Regions from separate parts of the Homo sapiens genome. Here region 1 is linked to region 2. Evidence: promoter capture Hi-C in 16 types of primary human blood cells and fetal thymus (Javierre and others, 2016). All regions are on one chromosome and are shown on one strand. The core of a region is centred on a gene start or on the middle of the fragment in contact, and the rest is flanking DNA. Distances in the headings are between cores, read along the strand shown.

Evidence for each region. The method cuts DNA at HindIII sites, captures the fragments that hold promoters and counts their contacts. A CHiCAGO score of 5 or more calls a contact.
Region 1: a contact is called between a fragment that was not itself captured here and the fragment with the promoter of H3C8 in region 2, in 1 of 17 cell types (naive CD8 T cells). The highest score is 5.0, in naive CD8 T cells.

What each region holds. Positions count from the first base shown.
Region 1 is chr6:27,174,384-27,181,694 of GRCh38, reverse strand. TRI-AAT5-2 (tRNA-Ile (anticodon AAT) 5-2) reads left to right here and starts at 4,407; the gene lies at 4,407-4,480. RefSeq lists enhancers at 3,250-3,309, 3,660-3,759, 3,950-4,149, a silencer at 4,352-4,501 and a cis regulatory region at 3,491-4,568. The HindIII fragment of the contact is 1,154 bases long and covers 4,114-5,267 here.
Region 2 is chr6:26,268,151-26,274,824 of GRCh38, reverse strand. It overlaps H3C8 (H3 clustered histone 8), which reads left to right and starts at 3,412. Exons shown (of 1, transcript NM_003534.3): 1 at 3,412-3,907. The coding sequence starts at 3,441. The coding sequence ends at 3,851. It overlaps H2BC10 (H2B clustered histone 10), which reads right to left and starts at 1,894. Exons shown (of 1, transcript NM_003525.3): 1 at 1,413-1,894. The coding sequence starts at 1,849. The coding sequence ends at 1,469. It also overlaps the pseudogene H2AC10P. RefSeq lists enhancers at 804-963, 1,374-1,423, 1,434-1,563, 2,304-2,643, 4,371-4,510 and 2 more. The HindIII fragment of the contact is 12,049 bases long and covers 1-4,011 here.

The DNA of each region.
Region 1 (7,311 bases), core at 3,441-5,940, 910 kb before region 2:
CATTGGTGGTTATGCGGGATTCTACTGAAAATGGTGTAAGGATTGGGAACAACAGGGTGGATGGTCTGAACTATTTGGTAAATAGCCCAGAGGTCTTGCACTAGCTGGTATGACCCGTCTGACTTCCTTACAGGCAATATTGGAGTGTTATAAGGGGACATACAGGGTTCAAGTCTTTCAATTACAGGTTTTAAAACTATCCTGGTTTTAAACCTATCCTGGCTTCCAAGGGAATAGGGTATTGTTTTCGTGGACAAGGCTTTCAATTATAGGTTATAAACCTATCCTGGCTTCCAAGGGAATAGGGTATTGTTTTTGTTTCACTATTTCCCCAGGAGTTTTTAATTTGACATGGATTGGAGGAACCCATCCTCGATTCCCTTCTTTCGACCATACGTTGGGATGGATGCGGCTTTCTTCTGAAGTGGTGAGTACGTTTAAGGAAGTAAGGAGTTTTCCTTGATTAACATATAGGCCTGTGCCTAACCTTAACATTAAGTCCCTTCCTAATAAATTAGTTCCTGCTTCAGGAATTAAGAAGAACTTAGTAGCAACCGACTTATTCTTATATTTGACTTCGGTTTCCTCTAGAATTTTTGCTCTGAATCCTTCCCCTTTAACTCCTGAGACAGTAAGGTCTTCGGCTGAACAGGATAAATCTGATGGGAGAAAACATAGGCAGGAGCCAGCTGCTCCCGAATTGACCAGGAAAGTGACTATTTCCAATTTGGGTCCCACCGTTAAATTTATCAAGGGCTCTTGGTGGGACTCAAGATGGAAGACGTAGAGCCCCTGAGCCCACTGTTCTTCAAATGTCATGAGTGAAAGGACTTTCTTTTCCCTCTCCCATTCGGGACATTTCCTCTTAAAATGTCCTGGCTTTCCACATCTGAAACATCTGTTTTTCCTTCTCCCCCTCCTGGTTCCCTGATTCTCAGGTTTCGTCCCTTTGCTTCCTGTATAGGGTCTGGCAGCCTGGTACTCAGAAGGTTTACAAGTTCTATTTCCCTGGGATGCCTGTTGAAAAGTTCCCTGTTGTAGGGTGGACAGCATAATTTTTGCCTTTTGCTTCTGCCTTTCCTCATCCCTCCGTACATATACCTTTTGGACCTCTCTTTAAAGTTCCTCTATGGGACAGTCTTTCTAATTTTCTATCTTTTATAATTTCTTTATAGTGTCTGGCCAACTATTGGTGACAAAGTGGAGCTTTAACATCCTTTGTCCTAGTGGGTCCTCTATGTCCAAACCTGCGTATTTTCTTATCTGTTCCTTAAGTCTGTTTAAGAATTCCATGGGCCCTTCATCTTTCTCTTGCTGTACATTAAATGCTTGGGAAATGTTTTGGGTTGGAGGAACTGATTCCTGAATCCCTTTAATTATCATATCCCTATCTCTCATGTTTTCCCGGTGAGCCGCACTGTTGTTATCCCATTGAGGGTCCTGGGCCGGGAATTTATGCTCTGCTGCAAGGACATTCTGACGAGGGGGGTGCTTGCGCTCCCAGGCTATCATAGCAGCCTTGCAGATCATGGTTCTTTCCTCTCCTAAGAAGAGAATACCTAGAATAGACATCAATTCAGCCCAGGTATACAGTTGTGGCCCCATAAATTGGTCAATTTGATCTGAGACTCCAAAAGGGTCATCTAACAGTGGTTTGAGTCTCCTTTTTAGATTTCTAACTTCTTCACTAGCTAAGGGGGGCATTTACGAAGCCAATATCCCCTCCTCCTAGTGGTACTTCCCTCAAGGGAAAAAAGGTTGGGGCAGACTTCTTTGAAGAGAGGAAAGGAAAGTTTTGAATATCCCTTTGGCATTGTTCTATTTGCCACTGGAGCTTTCCTAAGGGAGGGGCATGTTCGAGTGGCTGTCCAACGGGGGTGTGTGGTGTCAAGGCCCATGGGGCAGGGTTATATGGGGGAGGGACGGAGTTTTAGCTTGGGGCAGAGGGGTAGGTGCGGGAAGGGCTGTTGTTCAGTCGGGGCGGAGAGGTAGGCAGGGGAAGGTGGTCTAGAGGATCCCGTGCATCTTTGGATATAGAATATGACTTAGCTAGGTCGTCTTTGGGGGGTTTTGAGTTTGGCTTTGCTTTTTCGTCCTTTAAGGGATAGAGAAGGACAGGTCCTTGTCTCCAACATAGAGCATAATCTATCTCCTCTTGAGAAACTGGGCTTTTATCATTGACATACTGGATCAGGAGTTGGCATATCCAGTCCTCGTCCCACCCAAACTTTGGCCAAAAGACCGAAGGTCTGAGGATGGGTTCCTTAGTCCAAATAAAACAGCAGTACTTTATCATTTGCTGTCTTTTCTTGTGTTTGGTCCTTTCATTATCCTTCCAGTATTTTAACATTAGGCCTAGGGGACTGTGAGGGAAATTTTATTGTCTGCTTGGCCTTTTAGAGTCTCTGTCTTACTTGGGGTTATTTCCCATCCTGGAGGTTGGTGAGGCTTAATATATAATATTAGAGATCTCTTGCACTCCCGTGTCTTAGAGGCTCAACCTCCCCTTTTTCCACTGGAGGTTTCTTGCACTCTCGTGAGCACTCACTTCGTCCTTATTGGCTGCTTCCCTTGCGGGAATTTTAGGCACCTCTTAGCATTGGCGGGTAGGTGGAATCCCCTGATTGGAAAACCGCCCTAAGCCGTATGAGGTGACCACGGAACCAAGTCCGGACTCCGCACTCGCCTTGCGCCCAGTGGTATGTCTCACTCACACACTTTAAAACTCCAGAGACCCCAACCACCAAGGAAGGCTTTGCCGCCCCAATAGCAACGTTTCTTACCTTGGTCTGTGCACAGAGTTACCTGTGGTCGCCATGGAATTCTTTTTTTTTTTTTTTTTGAGACGGAGTCTCGCTCTGTTGCCTAGGCTGGAGTGCAGTGGCATGATCTCGGCTTACTGCAACTTCTGCCTCCCGGGTTCAAGTGATTTTCCTGCCTCAGCCTCCCAAGTAGCTGGGACTAAGGGCGCGCACCACCACGCCCGGTTAATTTTTGTATTTTTAGTAGAAACGGAGTTTCACCGTATTGACCAAGCTGGTCTCACAGAATTCTTAAGGATCCTCCCTACTGTCCGCGTTGCTGAGAGTCCGGATTTATTCGTCACTTCGGGCGGGACTCGATCCTCCGCTCCTGGGGCCACCACGAGGCAATGGGACGCGTCTCCCCATGAAAGATAATCGCTAGCCCCTCCCGAAGGAGAATGGGATCCCGGACGAGTCCCTAAGATTTACTGGAAACAAGTGCTTGGTGTAGCCAAAAGAAACCCTCACTTAGAAAATTCCTCAGCAAGGCATCTTTACTTCTGCAGAAGGGTGCTCCTTGCCTGTTACAATTGCAAGAGCACACCAAACAAAGGAGGTAAGGAGTTTTTAATCCTAACGCAGTTCCTGTTTCTGTGTCCTTCCCCTATTGGCTGGGGTTGGACCGCACAATCTAAGCTGATCCCGATTGGCTAAGACTTAAACTTTGGCAAATAGGGTAAACCCTGGATTTGCGAAAAAAAGGAGTGTATGTGTGTGGTGGGGGGCGGGGGGCAGGCAGGATTGACGTACAACTTTTGCAACTTATGACAAGAAAGTTGAGTCTTTGAAGAGGGACTTAGTTGTCCCAACACTCTGAGTTGCCTGACCCGGTCCTGGGCTCAGTTCCTCCCAGATACCGGCGTTTATCATTGGTGTAGATAATGGTGACTTCCCTTGTCTTAGATGTGGGTGTCTTGGTCTTCCCGGGACGGAAGGAGTCAGAGACTCTTGAAAGGAGCCGTCCCGCTGGTCCTTTCATTTACGCCGATGCCAGCCCGGCACTCGAGCATCACCAAGGGCCCGGTGCCCGGCACTGCAGGGCCAAGTCTGATTTTATCGTTTGTGGAGCTGCAAGCTTAGGACGCACAGCTGTGAATTTCGGGTCCTGGTGACTGCGGAACCACCGCGAGGCCAGGAGGCGAGACAGTGCACTTTCCCAGGTTCCCAGGCCTAAGAGCCCACCTGGCTGGAATGGTCTCAAGGAGCAGAGAGGAATCCGCACCCTCCGAGTCCTCCGAACCCTCCGATCCTGCGAACCTGCGGCGGCTCTGCGGTTGGTTCCGTGAGGAACTGGCCGCGATCGCAAGCTTGGAGCTGCTTTTTGGTTTGTTCTGAGTCCTTCACCTGGTGAGGGGAAGGAAGCCCTGCTTGGGGTCGTTGAATCTGAGTTTTCTCCAGTCAGAATCAGTGGTTTGAGATTGTTTTCCCTGAAACAGCATGGTTTTCCTGTGCCTACAGTGAGGAATTCTCCTTTTCTTAAAAAAAAATATATTTTATTAATAAAAGGGAAAGTAACGCTTCTATTACAAAAAAAAAAAAATTCAGCGGGCATGGATCAGGTATGATTTAAATAAACATAAGAAAAGACCCTCCCACCAAGGAGGCCGGTTAGCTCAGTTGGTTAGAGCGTGGTGCTAATAACGCCAAGGTCGCGGGTTCGATCCCCGTACGGGCCACTTCCGTGGGTTTGTTTTTTTTTTTTTTCTTCTTTTTCGTTTTTATTTTACACCGACCACACCTCGCTTGTAAACTTCGGTTTTACATCGAACTCCGTAGCCTCGCCTATCCATTTATAAATGTAGTTGCACTAGCTAGACAGGAATTTTTTTCTTTTTTCTTTTTTTTTTTTCTTAAATCGACCACACCTGGATTGTATACTACCGTCTTACATCCAACTCCGGAGCGCTGCCTATCCATTTGTAAATGTGGTCGCAATAGCTAGACAAGCATTAGATTTGCACGTTTTTTATTCTTTTGAAGAAATAATATACGAGTTAGGATGAAAAGGTTTTTCTTATTTGTTTGTTTTGTTTGTTTTTGAGACAGAGTCTTGCTCTGACGCCCAGGCTGGAGTGCAGCGGCGCGATCTTGGCTCGCTGCAACCTCCGCCTCCCAGGTTTAAGCAATTCTTCTGCCTCAGCCTCCCAAGTAGCTGGGATTACAGGCGTGTGCCACGATGCCTGGGTAATTTTTGTATTTTCAGTAGAGACGGAGTTTCACCATGTTGGCCAGGCTAGTCTTGAACTCCTGACCTCAGGTGATCCGCCTGCCTTGGCCTCCCAAAGTGCTGAGATTACAGGCATGAGCCATCGCGCCCGGCCAGGATGAAGATTTTTTAAAGGAAATTCAATGAGGTGGGTGGGTGATTTTAGAAAAGGGTTAAATAAGAATTCGATAATGTCTTGTATTATTTTGGGAAAAAAAAACTTTCTGAGATAATACTATTTTGACATATTTTAAGCTTTTGAAAGAGATCATATTGATTCTTCTCCTAGTTGATCACTCAGTTGGTTAAATTGTTGTGTTTGTAGCTTTGAGGGCGAGGGTTCAGTCTACGTGGGAAAAAGCCAGACTTGTGACGTTGCTTTCTGCCAAGCTCCAGACACTCAGCCACAACTGCTCAGTGTTAAAATAGATCCGTGGTTAGCCTTAGGCTTATATTTGACAGCTGTTCTCGATGTGGCCCATACCAAGCCATTTACGATGCGGCCCTTACCAAGCCATTTACAGTTCATTAAACAATTTTTGAACATATATCGTAAAAGCGATAGGTTTGAAATGTGACAAAAATGGAGTGCGTGGTGGGAGACAGGAGGGCCAGAGCCTCTGGGTCCACTCTAAGTCTTAGCACCTCGCTCTTTCTGTCCTGCGCTTTCTTTTTTTTTTTCTTTTTTTCTTTTTCTTTTTTTTTTTTTTTTTTGAGACGGAGTCTCGCTCTGTCGCCCAGGCTGGAGTGCAGTGGCGCAATCTCGGCTCACTGCAAGCTCCGCCTCCCGGGTTCACGCCATTCTCCTGCCTCAGCCTCCCAAGTAGCTGGGACTACAGGCGCCCGCCACTACGCCCGGCTAATTTTTTGTATTTTTAGTAGAGACGGGGTTTCACCGTTTTAGCCGGGATGGTCTCGATCTCCTGACCTCGTGATCCGCCCGCCTCGGCCTCCCAAAGTGCTGGGATTACAGGCGTGAGCCACCGCGCCCAGCCCTGTCCTGCGCTTTCTTGGAGTCTGGTCACTGGGTCCCCGTGTGCCTGGCACGTGTCTCATTTACATTTCTTCCTTCACTCTTCATCCTCCCAACATATTTTTACCCTTCTCTTATTTTAAAACATGGGTTGCTATGAAAATGACATTAACAATATTGATAAATAATGAGGTAAATAATGGCTCAAAAACAGCGCCAAGGACATAGTGGGCGAATCACAAAGGGAAGGGGCTCCCTCTGTTTTGCTCAGTGCTGTGATTTTTCACGTCAAAAACAGTAAGTAGCTCAAAGTCAGCGACTGAAAAAGATTTCTTTAGAATAAATTAATGAAGAGTACCTACTACTTAGTCCATTGTATATTAGATGATATATACAGATTTAAGTATAAGAAGGATTCCACAGGTAGTTGCTGACTTTGAAAACGAAGGGAGCCACCAGCCAGAGAACTCAGGCATCTGCTAGAAACTGTGAACAACCTGTAAACCGTTATCTCAGTCCTACAGCTGCAGGGAACTGAATGCTACTGACAACCTGAGTGAGTTTGAAAACGAATTCTCCCCTAGAGCCTCCATGAGGAACATGGCCGGGCCTGCTGACGTTTTGGTATTAGTTTGATGACACCCTGCCAGACTTATAACGCACAGAACTGTGTGATAATGAATGGATGTTGTTTTAAGCTATTAAATTTGTGGTAGTTTGTTAAGGAAGTAATAGAAAAACTAACAAAACAAGAAATTGTTAACCCACCCACACTTCCTACTATCTATCCTGGGTTATCTTCCTCTCTTCAGTGCAGTGTAAGATGAAATATGGTTTCAAAATGAGGGACAATAATTTTCAACATCAACACAGTAAGAATGAAAAAAAAGAGGGAGCTTCTTAGGATCCATTAAAAATTAAGGATATAGATATGCATATATATGAAAAGTTAATACATTCACATAAACAGTAACTAAAAGTGAAGATTTTCTTCTTCCTCATAACCCACATCTGCTCAGTTCTCAGCACTACCTCCTATATATGACAATTCTTCTTAGTTTCCTATGTATTCTCCTTAGTGTTCTTTGTGCAATAGGTGCAAATATACATAATACATTTTACTTTTCCTTTCTACTTATGTAAAATATAACATTATACACACTATTTTACATTCTGCTTTTTTCACTTGATATGCCTTGGAGATGTCTAATTTAGCAACACTTGTAATGCTTTCAAACAGCATTATATGCTGTACAGAAATAAAACTTTTTTTTTTTTTTGAGACAGAGTTTCCATCTTGTCGCCCAGTCTGGAGTACAGTGGTGTGA
Region 2 (6,674 bases), core at 2,163-4,662:
ACCAGTTTTCTTTTATTACAATTGAGCCTAAATTTCCTGACTCCTCTGACAGCAACTAGGCTCCTGCTTGGGATGGTCTCTAACAAACAGTGGGAAGTAATCCTTAGAATCAGAGTAGATTCAAATCTCAGTTTTATTTATGTGTAAGGGGCTAGTTACTTAACCTTAATTCTTGAGGTCATTCACCTGTAAAAGAGGAGCTTCCATTTCACAGCTGACTGTAGGAAAAAAAAAATCAATGAATGAAATAATGCATTCTAAGGACTACCACACAAATGTTAATTCCTTGTAACCCTCCTCTCTTAAAATGAATTTTCAAGAAAGGGAGTAGCTGTGGACAAAGTCGTTCCAGGACACGGAGGAGGAGGTTTAGGGAGAACACAGTCCTTGGAGCCTTAAAAAGGCTTACAGATAAAAGCGTCTGAATGTAGCACCGGGAATTTTCATTTCTTTGCTCCAACTTCAGGCTATCCTGTTGCCTGTTCTTTGTCTTAAACCTCAATATGTTCAGCTAAGAAGATGGTAGAGTTCCTGATCTTGCCAAGAGGTAATATGTATAGCTACGTGAAGTAATCCAGTAATTATAAACTCAGTAAAATTTGTAGAGAAATCAGTGGACTTGCAAGGGGGATATGAGAACGTCTGGTAGCGATCTGCCATGGTTTAGAAATGCAACCAACAGAGGTGATTTCCTCCATCATATGCCGCTCCAACCATTTGCAAGCTAACAACGAACTAAAAGACGAGTTTCGCTTTCTCAGACCTTATTTTAGATTTAAGACTACCCCAAACTTGATTTCCACCCGGCTACTCCAAATCAAGGGCAATAGGATGATAAAGTGAAACTAAAAACGAAAACAAAATTTTAAGATGGTGGTGTGCGGGGAGAAGAAAAGTGGGGATCAATCTAGAACACGATTTTTCCTTAGCTGCTGAGTGAAATGTGTCATATTAAGCTGCATACGAGCTTACTCCTTGGTGACGCTTACAATCTATAGGGGAAAAAACAACGAACCTGGATTTTTTTTTGAGATGTCTCGCTCTTATACCCCAGGTTTGAGTGCAATGGCTCTATCTGGGCTCACTGCAACCTCCGCCTCCTGGGTTCAAACGATTCTCCTACCTCTGCCTCCCAAGTAGCTGGGATTAAGTTGCCTGCCACCACTCCCGGCTAATTTTTGTATATTTTAGTAGAGACAGGGTTTCACCATGTTGGCGAGGCTGGTCTCGAACTCCTGACCTCAGGTGACGCGACCGCCTCGGCCTCCCAAAGTGCTGGGATTACAGGCGTGAGCCACTGCGCCCGGCCGAACTTGGATGTTTCAGTAAACCCTTACTATCCCATGTGTTGCTTAGCCATTTTACCTTGCCAATGCCAAGTCTGGAAAATTACAGATCTTTAAATGACAACATGGGTGGCTCTTAGAAGAGCCTTTGGGTCGTTAGCGCTTTTACCCAGGTAACTAGTTTACTTGGAGCTGGTGTACTTGGTGACCGCCTTGGTGCCCTCCGACACCGCGTGTTTGGCCAGCTCCCCGGGTAGCAGCAGGCGCACAGCCGTTTGGATCTCCCTGGAAGTGATGGTCGAGCGCTTGTTATAATGCGCCAGGCGGGAAGCCTCGCCTGCAATGCGCTCGAAAATGTCGTTGACGAAGGAGTTCATAATCCCCATAGCCTTGGACGAGATGCCGGTGTCGGGGTGGACCTGCTTCAGCACCTTGTACACGTACACGGAATAGCTCTCCTTGCGGCTGCGCTTGCGCTTCTTGCCATCCTTCTTCTGTGCCTTGGTCACCGCCTTCTTGGAGCCCTTCTTCGGGGCGGGAGCTGACTTAGCTGGTTCAGGCATGTTCGCAGCCGAAGTGATACCGTCAAATGACCACAGGAAAATGCTGGTGAGCCCAAACGCCCTCATTATTTACCTCGTGTATATGCAAATGAGGCTGGCTGAGTTTCGGTTTCTCATTGGTTCTTTTAGTGTCTGAATATATGATAGGCCATTTCTGAACTCCTAAATCTCATCGGCTCTCCCAGAAGCTCAACCTTGCATAATTTGACCTTTCAACTATAAGTATGTAAGTCAGAAGTGGTTTTTTTTTTTTTTTTTTTTTTAAATTTTTTTAAACACCTGCTTTTCGATTGGCTGAAATCTGTGTTCAGGAGATAGCACAGTCTACTTTGCCGAATATAGATTATAAGAGTTTAGCTCTTGCGTTTTACTAGAATCAATCACTTTCCTTCTTCTAAACAAGTATTTAAATACTTCACTGCGTCTGGATGTGGAATGCAGGGCAGCAAAGCTCGCGCCAAGGCTAAAACGCACTCTTCCAGGGCTGGTCTCCAGTTTTCTGTGGGCCGAGTGCACCGCCTCCTCCGCAAGGGCAACTACGCCAAGCGGGTCCGGGCCGGTGCGCCGGTGTACCTGGAGGCGGTGCTGGAGTACCTGACCGCCAAGATCCTGGAGTTGGCGGGCAACGCGGCCCGAGACAAGAAGACCCGCGTCACCCCCCGACGCCTGCAGCTCGCCATCCACGACGAGAAGCTCAACAAGCTGTTGGGCAAAGTTACTATCGCGCAGGGCGGTGTCCTGCCCAATATTCAGGCCGTGCTGTTGCCCTGTCTATACAAGTGACTGACTAGGCAAACAGGACTAATGAGAAAATGTTTAATATCTCAAGTAAGTGCTTTAATGTAGTCGGGAAGAAGCAAGTTCAGTAACGTTTACAAAACCTTGTAAAGTTTAGATGGACAGGGCCACTGCAGTGTTCAAGTTATCCTGCAGAAGAGGCTAGTGGGGGTGGTATCCTGGAATATCATCAATAGGACCCAACGAAAAGTAAATGATAAGAGTCGTTGGAAAACCTAAAATTAGCCTGTGCCTTAAAAATTCTCAACCGAAGCAAAACACCATTTGGGACAAAATAGAATTCAGTTAACATTTGTTGCTCACTGTTGTATGTCGGTGACTTCTTGGCTCGTGATTTCCCAGGTACATCACCCAGGAATCCTGCCTTATAATGGTCAAAGGTTTCCAGCTAGCAGCAGTCCAGGTGACTCAAGAAAACGGCACAAGATAAACTTCTCAAAACGTGGTCCTCCGAATCTGGCCCCACAACACATCTACTGAATGAGAATTAGCGTCTTCCAAGTCTTAAAGTAGTCGTTTACGGACTACAGCTTGAGAAGCGCAGAATTAGAACTTTAAGAAGTTAACGTTCTTGGATCGCAGACTAACCGAGAAGAGAGGATTCAAAAATGAAGTGATTCATCCAATCAGATTTTCCAGTAATTCACCAATCACATCGTTGGACTCTTCAGCCAATGGTTTTGTTGCGCGGGTCTTTTGAAAATCAACAAGGCCAATTAGAATGTTTCTGAGTATATATAAGGGCAGTTTCCACTCTGCCAAGTGGCTGAGTTTTTCTTTCAGGTAGTCTGAGATGGCCCGCACCAAGCAGACTGCACGCAAGTCCACCGGTGGCAAAGCGCCGCGCAAGCAGCTGGCCACTAAGGCGGCTCGGAAAAGCGCGCCGGCCACCGGCGGCGTGAAGAAACCTCATCGCTACCGTCCCGGCACCGTGGCTCTGCGCGAGATTCGCCGCTATCAGAAGTCGACTGAGCTGCTGATCCGCAAGTTGCCTTTCCAACGCCTGGTGCGAGAAATCGCTCAGGACTTCAAGACAGATCTGCGCTTTCAGAGTTCCGCGGTGATGGCCCTGCAGGAGGCCTGCGAGGCCTACTTGGTGGGGCTCTTTGAGGATACCAACCTGTGTGCCATCCATGCTAAGCGAGTGACTATCATGCCCAAGGACATTCAGCTCGCTCGCCGCATTCGTGGGGAGAGAGCGTAGAGGTTTCCGGGCAGTAATTCTATCCAACTTAAAAAGGCTCTTTTAAGAGCCGCCTACTTTCACCCGAAAATAGCTGTGATTAACTAATCAAATCTTTGAAACTAAACATTGGTTTTAGTACTTAAGTCCTCATTTGATTGGCTAAAGTTAATGGTAAGCTTGCTATATTTGTTCCCGTGCTTTTTCCCGAAAGTGCCAGATTGTCAGCGTCCTTTTCTAAACTGGCTTTTAGGGGTTTGGAGCTTCGATTTGGTAGTGGAAGGGGCCACCTGGGGGCGTTTATATACATTGTCTCAAGCGTTAGTCGCGTTGTCTACTTACACCCATTATAGATGGGATTTTTTTTCGTTGTGTATTTCTGGTTAATCCCTTTTAAAACTTTACAGGTATGAGCATTGGCAGTTGAGAGTAGGTAGGGATATCCTTGGTTGCTGCTTTTTCGTGTCTGAAGCAGCTATTTCCACAATTCCCCCTTTTTTTAAACAGTTCTTGGTTTTTCTGTGAAATGATCCATTTTTTAATTCAATATTAGAAATTGGCGGCAGAAACGAAAGCCAGATTGGCCTCTACATTACTGGCAGCATGGGCATTACGTGGGAACTTGTTAGAAGCTCCCAGGGCATTACATGGGAGCTTGTTTCAATCCCCATCTAGGGCTGGAGTCAATCTGCATATACCTCAGATGATTCTCATGAACACTGATTTAGGAAGCCTAGGTTGTTGGTTTTGGTCTCATCAGTAAAGGCATCCTGCCTGTGAACTCTTACAAGGAGTGAGCTTTTGCAAAATGCATGTTTATTTATGTTACAGAATGAAATATTCTATGAAATGTTCTCTAAAGCAAGTGCACAGAACAATCCCCTAAAATAGTTTGATTTCTTTACAGATCAGTTTTCTCAATGTAACATTACAGTCACATGGGAAGGCTTTAGAAAAATCTTTACCTGGGGTTCAATGAGACTAATAGCAATCTAGAGTGGGCCCAGGGAATGGTAATTATTAAAATTCAGGTGCTTCTAACAGCTGGGGCTGAGACTCCTTGCTACATAAATTTTAATACTCTTATTAGCTCTGGTTTGACTCTAGGCTTAGCAGTTTTCTAATTGAATCAGTTTCCTTGTAGTTTGCCTTCAGAGAGAATATACTGGTCTCTAAAGACTTTCTGGCTTGCTTGACTATCTTTCAACACCTGGCTTTTATAAGAATTTCTTAGGGCAACACTAATGTAAGTTTTTTCTTTTTTGTTTTGTTTTGTTTTTTGTTTTTTTGAACCACCGAGGTCCTTTTAGTGATTGGAAGTATCAGGTTTTTAGGGATGTTACAAGGAGGAACACATACCATCCTGGGCTGCTTGGCATACAACCAAGATATGTTTTCATATAGAACCCTTCCTTTACAGATTAGCACAAGGCCCTGTTTGGGTATTCAGCAGATCCTTCTTTATGATCTTTATTAATTTAGCAACTTGTCATTTTTTTTCACATATTGCTTTTATTTTAAAAACTTATTTGACATTCCAGAATATATGGGAAAGGAGATAATAGTTTAATAAAACCTATGTTCCTCTCATCCAGCTTCAATAACAACATTGGCTAAGTGTTTTATCTATTGATTTTTGTAAAGCAAATAATGAAACTGCCTAATGGGTTCACCTTGCCCACTGCCTAGACAAAGCTGATTTATCTAGGCAGGGAATTGCAATAGAGAAAGTAATTCACGCCGAGCCAGCTGTGCGGGAGACCGTAGTTTTATTGTTACTCAAATCAGTCTCCCCAGCATTCCAGATGGGGGGGAAGCCGATGAACCAGGAGTCCTGATTGGTCAGGTCAGAGATGTCATTATAGGGAGCTGAAGGTGTCTCCTTGGGCTGAGTCAGTTTCTGGGTGGAGGCCACAAGATCGGATGAGTCAGTTTACCAATCTGGGTGGGGCCAACTGATCCATCAGGTCTGCAAAATATCTCAAGCACTGATCTTAGGAGCAGTTTACGTGGGGTCAGAATCTTGTAGGTTCCAGCTGCAGGACTCCTAAACCATAATGTGTGTGTTTTTTTTTTTCTTTGAGACAGTCTCACTGCGTTGCCCAGGATGGAGACTGTAAACTCTGCCTCCCAGGTTCGAGCGATTCTCCTGTTCAGCCTCCCAAGCAGCTGGGATTACAGGCGCGCGCCACCATGCCCAGCCAATTTTTGTAGTTTTAGTAGAGACGAGGTTTCCTCATATTGGCCAGGCTGGTCTCGAACTCTGGACCTCAAGTGATCCACCCGCTTTCGCCTCCCAAAATGTTGGGATTACAGGCGTGAGCCATTACGACCTACCCCTAAACCATAATTTCTAATCTTGTGAGTAATTTGTTAGTCCTACAAAGGCAGTCTAGTCCCCAGGCAAGGAGGTTTGTTTTGGGAAAGGGCTGTTATCATATTAGTTTTAAACTATAAACTAAGTTCCTCCCAAAGGTAGTTCAGCCTACACCCAGGAGTGAACAAGGACAGCTTGAAGGTTAGAAGCAAGATGGAGTTGGTTAGGTCAGATCTCTTTGTCTCAGTTACAATGTTGCAATGACAATTTCAATATCATTTCATCTATTTTATATATGTTATCTGCTATTTAACACCTTATTATGGACCAGGTGCCTTGGCTCACTCCTGTAATCCCAGCACTTTGGGAGGCCGATGTGGGAGGATCACATGAGGTTAATTCTTGACAAACCTGGCCAACTTGGTGAAACCCCATCTCTACTAAAAATATAAAAATTAGCTGGACCGGGCCTGGTGGTGCACGCCTGTAATCCCAGCTACTGGGGAGGCTGAGGTAGGAAAATCTCT